Regions from separate parts of the Homo sapiens genome. Here all the other regions are linked to region 1. Evidence: promoter capture Hi-C in 16 types of primary human blood cells and fetal thymus (Javierre and others, 2016). All regions are on one chromosome and are shown on one strand. Each heading gives the region's core, a stretch centred on a gene start or on the middle of the fragment in contact. The rest is flanking DNA. Distances are from core to core; before and after follow the strand shown. Region 1 holds the start of UBE3A (ubiquitin protein ligase E3A). Region 2 overlaps ATP10A (ATPase phospholipid transporting 10A (putative)). Region 3 overlaps SNHG14 (small nucleolar RNA host gene 14).

The links. The method cuts DNA at HindIII sites, captures the fragments that hold promoters and counts their contacts. A CHiCAGO score of 5 or more calls a contact.
Region 2: a fragment that was not itself captured here is called in contact with the fragment with the promoter of UBE3A in region 1 in 1 of 17 cell types (monocytes); the score reaches 5.2 in monocytes.
Region 3: a contact is called between a fragment that was not itself captured here and the fragment with the promoter of UBE3A in region 1, in 2 of 17 cell types (megakaryocytes and endothelial precursors). The highest score is 7.8, in megakaryocytes.

Annotation. Positions count from the first base shown.
Region 1 is chr15:25,437,503-25,440,453 of GRCh38, reverse strand. It overlaps UBE3A (ubiquitin protein ligase E3A), which reads left to right and starts at 1,430. Exons shown (of 13, transcript NM_130839.5): 1 at 1,430-1,965. RefSeq lists enhancers at 423-1,368, 1,369-2,314 and silencers at 1,166-1,505, 1,866-2,285. The HindIII fragment of the contact is 4,364 bases long and covers 1-2,743 here.
Region 2 is chr15:25,757,845-25,760,795 of GRCh38, reverse strand. The region is part of intron 2 of ATP10A (ATPase phospholipid transporting 10A (putative)); the gene reads left to right. Among named protein-coding and RNA genes, the nearest start is that of MIR4715, 90 kb to the left of the region's middle. The HindIII fragment of the contact is 7,432 bases long and covers 1-2,951 here.
Region 3 is chr15:25,112,074-25,115,024 of GRCh38, reverse strand. The region is part of intron 58 of SNHG14 (small nucleolar RNA host gene 14); the gene reads right to left. Among named protein-coding and RNA genes, the nearest start is that of IPW, 3.0 kb to the left of the region's middle. The HindIII fragment of the contact is 805 bases long and covers 978-1,782 here.

The DNA of each region.
Region 1 (2,951 bases), core at 181-2,680:
ACAGCAAATAGTTTCCAAATGTGGATGTGTAATGAGAGGAAATGAAAAGTGAGTAAAGAGCTGAGTTAAAACATCTTAAAATCGAATATGGCTTAATACTATCATTATCATCAGTTGTCCTGGAATAACTTAAATTCTTCTAGCTTATTGTTGGTTTTTCAATGGTTGGTTATAGTTGTGAGGCGGATACACACACACACCCACACACTTGGCTATACAAAAAAGATGTTCCGAGACTGACAGTTAAAAATTACACTGCTGGCCGAGCACTGTGGCTCATGCCTGTAGTCCCAAAACTTTGGGAGGCCGAGGTGGGAGGATCACTTGAGGCCAGGAGCTCGAGACCAGCCTGGGCCTAACATAGCAAGACACCATTTCTAAGTTTAAAAATAAAAATAAATTTAAAAAAGATACACTGCTATGTACGACTGTTGATATAAAAAATCTGAATACTAGACATGGGTACTCATCTAGTACTTCAAGGGCTTATCAACAAAGTTGCAAGTTGTAACACTATGAATTGTTAGTGATACTCTTTTGGCTTTGCTAGCAAGTGTTGTAAAGCTATACACACACACACACACACACACACACATACACACACACACCTTTTAAAATGGTGACCCTGGTACCAAATATGACTTTAAATGGATTTAATTTTAATGGCTTTAACTACGTTCAGCTGTCATATGGATCAAAATTAGCCTCTATCCAGCTGGGGTCAACCAGGGAGCCACTTTTCTTAACCGACGACCTACTGAACGTCAACAACTGCAGGAGACGGGACTTTACCTTCGTCTCTGGTAAACTAGTTGACACATCCTGTGTTGGCAAGAGGCCTAAGTAGATGACCTTGGTCCTCTAAAATCTGGCCTGCACTCTCGGGGCACCCCTGCAACATCTACAAAGGCAGCTCCAGATAGAAAAGGGTTGGGGTCGAAAAGCCAATAACGGCAGGCACCTGCCCCGCCTCGGGGCTGGGGGGCTATTCCAGCGGCTTCAGCTAACTTTCAGAGCCATTCGTTTCCCAACAAAGTCTGAGGCGTTCCTCTGCTGGGTACACCAAGGGGCTCTGCAACCCTCCTGGGGGGGGGGGTGCCCAGAGGGCTTCCGGAAGTCCCAGGTTTATTCTTTCGGGTCACAGACAGCAGAAACTAAAAAGAGGGATTACCCTTTCTGTCCAGTCGCAAGATGGCGACCGAGCCTGGTGGGACTCCGAGGGGCCGCAGGCCACCTCCTCTTCCCAATGGCCCGTGCGCCGGCGGCGACGGCAAGCGGGAGGGAGGCGGGGCCGGCGAAGGAAGGAGGGGCGGAGCGCGGCGCCCTCCCGCGCGTCTTGGCCCCGCCCCACGTCCCCGCGTCCCGGCCTGGAGCCCTCGCCCGGCCGGGCGGCGCGCGCTGCCTGCCGGGATACTCGGCCCGCCCAGCCAGTCCTCCCGTCTTGCGCCGCGGCCGCGAGATCCGTGTGTCTCCCAAGATGGTGGCGCTGGGCTCGGGGTGACTACAGGAGACGACGGGGCCTTTTCCCTTCGCCAGGACCCGACACACCAGGCTTCGCTCGCTCGCGCACCCCTCCGCCGCGTAGCCATCCGCCAGCGCGGGCGCCCGCCATCCGCCGCCTACTTACGCTTCACCTCTGCCGACCCGGCGCGCTCGGCTGCGGGCGGCGGCGCCTCCTTCGGCTCCTCCTCGGAATAGCTCGCGGCCTGTAGCCCCTGGCAGGAGGGCCCCTCAGCCCCCCGGTGTGGACAGGCAGCGGCGGCTGGCGACGAACGCCGGGATTTCGGCGGCCCCGGCGCTCCCTTTCCCGGCCTCGTTTTCCGGATAAGGAAGCGCGGGTCCCGCATGAGCCCCGGCGGTGGCGGCAGCGAAAGAGAACGAGGCGGTGGCGGGCGGAGGCGGCGGGCGAGGGCGACTACGACCAGTGAGGCGGCCGCCGCAGCCCAGGCGCGGGGGCGACGACAGGTCAGTGTTGCCGCGGCCTGCGCCAGGCGGCGCTGGCTCCCCTCCGTCACTCGGCCGGCCTTCGGGGCCCGCTGTGGCGAGGTCGACACCCCCCTTCCCCGCCCCCCGCCGCCGAGGCGAGTGTTTGGGGGCGCGTGGTCCGAAGGGGCTGGTGCCAGAAGTAGGCCCCTGGTGGCCGCGGCTGCTGCAGCCGTAACTGTCAGTCCTGGCTGAGCGACGGCGGGAGGGTTTTGTCGCCCGAGGGGACGCGAGCGGGCCCGGGGCGGGGCGGGACGTGCGAGGCGTCGAGATTTGGGCCTCCTAGGAGCCAGGCTCTTCGAGCCAGCCGGGGCCCCAGACAGGGAAGGGCAGGCCCTTTCCTTCAAAGGGGAGCCCTTTCTCGGCGTTTTCAAGGTTTTTGGCTCTCTTGGGGAAGACATATTTAGCCGTGTGCTTGGTGGGTTGGGGTTTTGGGGGTGGATTGATGGGAAGGGAGGGCGGATGAAGTGGTATGTCAAGCCCAAGGGTTGTGCGCACAGGTTACTCTGTGTTACCGGCCACCAGGATTTCTGAAGTTGAACGTGAGTTATTGGCTTTGCCAGAGACTGCTGTGTTATATGCAGACCTGTATGCAAGCAGTTGGCCTTTTTTCCCCCCCCTTTTCAGTGTAGAAAATGAAAAGGATGCTTTCCTCATCTTGGTGGTAAAGGCTTTTGTTGGTAAAGGTAGAATTGAATGTACCAAATGCCTTAGTCCGTAAAATTTTAGAAATAATTTTAATACAGACACTGGTGAAGCTTGGCAACCTTGAAAGAGAATTTAGCGTCTACATTTTTTAAATGACTTTTTATGGATATGCTAAATTAGTAACAGTCCAAAATCTGTTTGAGATTATTAAGTGGCGAGGGTGCTGTTGAAAATGTAAACTAATAGCATATGGGGTTTACAGTGCACAGTTAACCTCAATCATGAAGAAATGTGGATATGACCCGTAATTTTGGATCATT
Region 2 (2,951 bases), core at 128-2,627, 320 kb before region 1:
TAGCTCACTGCAGCCTCAAGCTCCTGTGTTCAAGCCATCCTCCTGCCTCAGTCTCCCAAAGTGCTGACATTACATTCATGAGCCACCGTGCCCAGCTCCATGTAATTAATTCCTGCTGTGAACTTGCTTAGCACAAGCCCATCAGTTTTGTGCTATTATAGTTTTGGAAATTCAGTCCAATGCTATGAACTCAAAATTATTAGAAACTATATACTTGTCAGAGTTTTTTTCATTCTTTCCATTCTTTCCATGAACTGCCCTGAAGACATAACACTTGAAGATTGTAAGTGCTTGCAAGTAACTTTCAGAAAGGCATTGGAATAAAGCAATTGCTATGAACACCAAGGCTTAAAATGGCTATGGCAATGCAGTTGACAAGGAAATTTGGTTATTCGTGAACCATAATTATGACTGATAGCATTTATATGAAGACATAGGTTTCTAGGAACTTTATACAATTTTGGAACATCTATTAATAACACATCCATATAACTGTCACTCGAAGGCTAAACATCATTCCATGTTTTGACAGTGCTTCCCATATAATTTAAAATATTCGATAAGCCCATGTTGGCTTAATCTCTTTGTTTTACAGTTCCTTTTAGAAGTTCCAGGGCTTTCTGGAATGTCCTAAAGTTAATTTCGGTCAAAAGTTTTTTGAAAAGTTTGTCAAATATCCAAGGTTTAAATTACATAGCTACTCAGGGAGGCTGAGGCAGGAGAATTGCTTGAACCCAGGAGTTGGAGGTTGCAGTGAGCCGAGATCGCGCCACTGCACTCCAGCCTGGCGACGGAGTGAGACTTCATCTCAAAGAAAAAAAAAAAAATTACATGATCAGATAGGAACACAGATCACTGTGAAATAAAACCAAAGTGACAGAAGATTTCAAAGATACAAAGCACAAGAAATTATCTTGATTAAACATAGAATCAGTTTCCTAGGCCAGCTACCTAAAAGGTAAAGAAAAACTTTTCACTATTTTTTTTTTTTTTTGAGACAGGGTCTCCACCCAGGCTGGAGTACAGTAGTGTGATCTCAGCTCACTGCCACCTCCACCTCCCAGGCTCAAGCGATTCTCCACCTTAGCCTCCTGAATAGGTGGGACTACAGGCATGTGCCACCATGCTCGACTAATTTTCTTAAAAACTTTGTGTAGACATAGGAACTCACCATATTGCCCAGGCTGATCTCGAACTCTTGGTCTCAAGCAATCCGCCCACCTTGGCCTCCAGAAGTGCTGGGATTACAGGCCTGAGCCACCACACCTGGCCCACAGTTTTCTATTAAGGGCAGAGCAATGCTCCAAGAAAACCTTGTTCTAACACAGAGGCTCAAACTCCTCCCTCCCATCAGTGTACTTTTCATACTAATGCTCAGTTTTTTAAAAACTTAAATTTTCTAATTTTAGTCAATCTGATCACACATAAAATTATTTTCATGAGATTAATCTTGCACAAACCTACATCTTGCTTAAACCTTCCATTTTGTCCTATGCCTTCTACCTGAGGATAAAAATTTACTTGCCTTTTCCCTTTATCATTTTGTTATATATATTGTTATATATAAAGTTTTGGTGCCACAAAAGAAATAGCACTCGAATATAAAATGTTCCTTTTAATTCTCAGCAAGGCAAGTTACTTCTATATAGAAGGGTGCGCCCTTACAGATGGAACAATGGCGAGTGCACATTTGGACAAAGGAGGGGAAGGGGTTCTTATCCCTGACGCACGTGGCCCCTGGTGCTGTGTCGGTCCCCCATTGGCTAGGGTTAGATCGCACAGGCTAAACTACTTCCAATGGGCTAATTTAAAGAGACTGACAGGGTAAGTGCTTTGGCGGGAGTCAGGGGAGAGCAGATAGCAGGTGATCAGAATGAGTTAGGGTGGAGCAGGTGATCAGAATGAGTAAGGGTGGAGCAGGTGGTCGGAATGAGGGTGGAGCAGGTGATCGGAATGAGTTAGGGTGGAGCAGGTGGTCGGAATGAGTTAGGGTGGAGCAGGTGGTCGGAATGAGTTAGGGTGGAGCAGGTGATCGGAATGAGTTAGGGTGGAGCAGGTGGTCGGAATGAGGGTGGAGCAGGTGATCGGAATGAGTTAGGGTGGAGCAGGTGGTCGGAATGAGTTAGGGTGGAGCAGGTGGTCGGAATGAGTTAGGGTGGAGCAGGTGGTCGGAATGAGTTAGGGTGGAGCAGGTGATCGGAATGAGTTAGGGTGGAGCAGGTGGTCGGAATGAGTTAGGGTGGAGCAGGTGGTCGGAATGAGTTAGGGTGGAGCAGGTGATAGGAATGAGTTAGGGTGGAGCAGGTGGTCGGAATGAGTTAGGGTGGAGCAGGTGATAGGAATGAGTTAGGGTGGAGCAGGTGATCGGAATGAGTTAGGGTGGAGCAGGTGGTCGGAATGAGTTAGGGTGGAGCAGGTGATTGGAATGAGTTAGGGTGGATCAGGTGGTCGGAATGAGTTAGGGTGGAGCAGGTGGTCGGAATGAGTTAGGGTGGAGCAGGTGGTCGGAATGAGTTAGGGTGGAGCAGGTGGTCGGAATGAGTTAGGGTGGAGCAGGTGGTCGGAATGAGTTAGGGTGGAGCAGGTGGTCGGAATGAGTTAGGGTGGAGCAGGTGGTCGGAATGAGTTAGGGTGGAGCAGGTGATAGGAATGAGTTAGGGTGGAGCAGGTGGTCGGAATGAGTTAGGGTGGAGCAGGTGGTCGGAATGAGTTAGGGTGGAGCAGGTGGTCGGAATGAGTTAGGGTGGAGCAGGTGATCGGAATGAGTTAGGGTGGAGCAGGTGATAGGAATGAGTTAGGGTGGAGCAGGTGATCGGAATGAGTTAGGGTGGAGCAGGTGGTCGGAATGAGTTAGGGTGGAGCAGGTGGTCGGAATGAGTTAGGGTGGAGCAGGTGATAGGAATGAGTTAGGGTGGAGCAGGTGGTCGGAATGAGTTAGGGTGGAGCAGGTG
Region 3 (2,951 bases), core at 131-2,630, 330 kb after region 1:
TCTGCTATAAGCTAAGCAGAGAAATGTCAAACATCCTAGAATCTCTAGGAATGAAAACCATGGAGGACTCACCATGTGATTAATGTTGATATATGATTTGATTACAAGAGGCTTCCCAAAATAGATCAAATTATTGCCTAGTTAAAATAATTCCCCACTGGCTACAAACATACTTGCCAGGCACAGTGGATCATGCCTGTAATCCCTGCACTTTGGGAGGCCAAGGAGGGCAGATCACCTGAGGTTGGGAGTTTGAGACCAGCCTGGCCCACATGGTGAAACCCTGTCTCTACAAAAACACAAAAATTAGCGGTGTGTGGTGGCACGTGCCTGTAATCCCAGCTACTTGGGAGGCTGAGGCAGGAGAATCGCTTGAACCCTGGAGGTGGAGGTTGCAGTGAGCCAACATCGTGCCACTGCACTCCCGTCTGGGCGATAGAGCGAGACTCAGCCTCAAAAAATATATATATATTTTCTTACTGCTCCTTGCAGAGCAGGGCTAACCCATAGACAGCGTTCCCAGAGTAGCCCAAAGATAAATTTAGAATGAGTGATATTGCTACGGGATCTTCTGGAAACCTCACAGAGATGAGCACTGAAGCCAGTGAGAATCAAAATGTCAACGCTGTGTTGTTGAGTTGTAAGTGCAATGAGAACTTTGTTTTCCTTCATAGCTCTCCCCTCAAGAAAGCACAATGCAGCAAACAGCGACATTCCTGATCCAATCTATAGGGTCAGTAGTGATGTTGTCTCCATCATTCCTAATTCTAATGATCTGTGTCAGTCTAGCTAAAGGATTGTAAATTTCACAAATCTCTGCACAAACCCAACTTTTGGTTTCATGGATTTTTCTCTGTATTTTGTCTGGTTTTTTATGTCATCAATTTTTGCTCCAATCCCTATTGTTTACTTCTTTCTGCTTGCTTTGGATTTCATCTTCTAGTTTAGTCTTTTTCTTGTTTCTTAAGGTGGAAGCTTATGTCATTTATTTATCTTCCCTTTTTTTCTGATACAGTTATTTAAAACTATAAATATCCCTCTAAGCATGTCTTTAGTTGTATCAAATTCTATGCAAGATGTTTTCTGGATTCCTTTTATTTTTTAGACAGGGTCTCACTTTGTCGCCCAGGCTGGTATGCAGTGGTGCAATCTTGGTTCAATGCAGCTTCTACCTGCTGGGCTCAGGTGATTCCCCTACCTCAGCCTCCTGAGTAGCTGGGACTACAGGCATGCACCACCATGCTCAACTCATTTTTTGTATTTTTTTGTAGAGATGGGGTTTTGCCATGTTGCCCAGGTTGGTCTTGAACTCCTGGCCTCAAGTGATGTGCCCACCTACGCCTCCCAAAGTGCTGGAATTACAGGTGTAAGCAACCACCCCCGGCCTTTCTAGTTTAATATATATATTTTTGACCAATGGGCTCTGTAAAGTGTGTTAATTTCCAAATATCTTGTGACCTCCAAATTTATTTCTGTGTTGATTTCTAATTCCTCTATGGTCACACAACATACTCTACATGGTTTCAATCTTAAATTTATTGAGTACAGTTTTATAGCCTAACATATACTCTATCCTGGAGAATGTTCCAGGTATGCTTGAAAATAATTTGTATTTCTGTTGTTGGGTGAAGTTTTCTCTGTCTGTCTGTCTGTCTGTCTAACTGTCTATCTATCTATCTCAGGTCAAATTGGTTGACAACATTGCTGAAGTATGTTGTAACCTCAATGATGCTCTATCTAATTGACTTATCACTGATTAAGAAGAGGGTATGAACAAAAGCTTTTATTGTTGAATTGCCTATTGATCCCCTCAATCATGTTAAATTTCAGTGTATGTAGTTTTGGGCACTGTTGTTAGTGCTGATATGATTGTAATTGTTACATATTCCATATTAACCCTTCTATCATTAAATACTATCCTTCTTCCTCTCTAGCAATACTTTATCTTAAAGTCTCTTTTTTCTGATGTCAGAATAGCCACTTCTGCTCTCTTCTGGATTCGCTGGATATAGCTTTTTCCATCTTTTTACTTTCCAACTATTTGTATCTTTTGTTCTAAAGTGTCTCTTCTGTAGACAGCGTATAGTTGCTCATGTTTAAAAAACAACGGAATTTCCTAATCTCTTAAAAATTTAATATAATTGTCATATGGCTGGGTTTATGTCTGTCATTTTCCTATCTGTTTTCTATATGTCTTATTGGTTCCTCTGTTCATCTTTAACTGCCTTCTTTTGTGTTAAACAGATCTTTTCGGTTATTCTATTTTAATTCTTTGGTTGTTCTTTTAATATTTTTTGAATTGTTTTCTTACTGGTGGTCCTAGTGTTTATAAAATACAACTTAAATGATCACAGCCTCCCTCAGATTAACAATATATGTGTAACATGGCCTTTTATATGACTTGAAATCAATTTGAGAGAAGCAATTCTATTGCTCAGTCCAGATTTCCAAAAGATACTGAAGCCATCATCAATCCAGGCATGTTTATAAAAGGGACTGTGAGCCTGAGATAGGAGACAGACACTACACACTAACAATTCTGTCACACTTGGACACAATGACACCATCACCACACTAAGTCATAGAGACCAGGATACAGGAACGATGATCCAGCCACATGGCTGACTACCATTATCATTGGAATGTTATAGTTCCCTAAGAAGAATATTCTCTGGACAAAATGCTTACTGTGAGAATTCCCACTGGCCTGTGAGCATGGAATGGTATAATTATTTCTGATACTTTCTGTCATATTTCAAGGGCAATGTTTAAACTCTTTCATATGACATTCACATTTTGGTCTACATGACCTGTGGAAATGGAGTAAAAATATGGGAAGATGAGAAATATACATGTCCATTTGTCAAATATGCATAAGAAAGGAGGCTTCACTATGTATCTGCATATAAAATGTACTAATTCATTACTCTACTAGGATGTCTCTGATATTA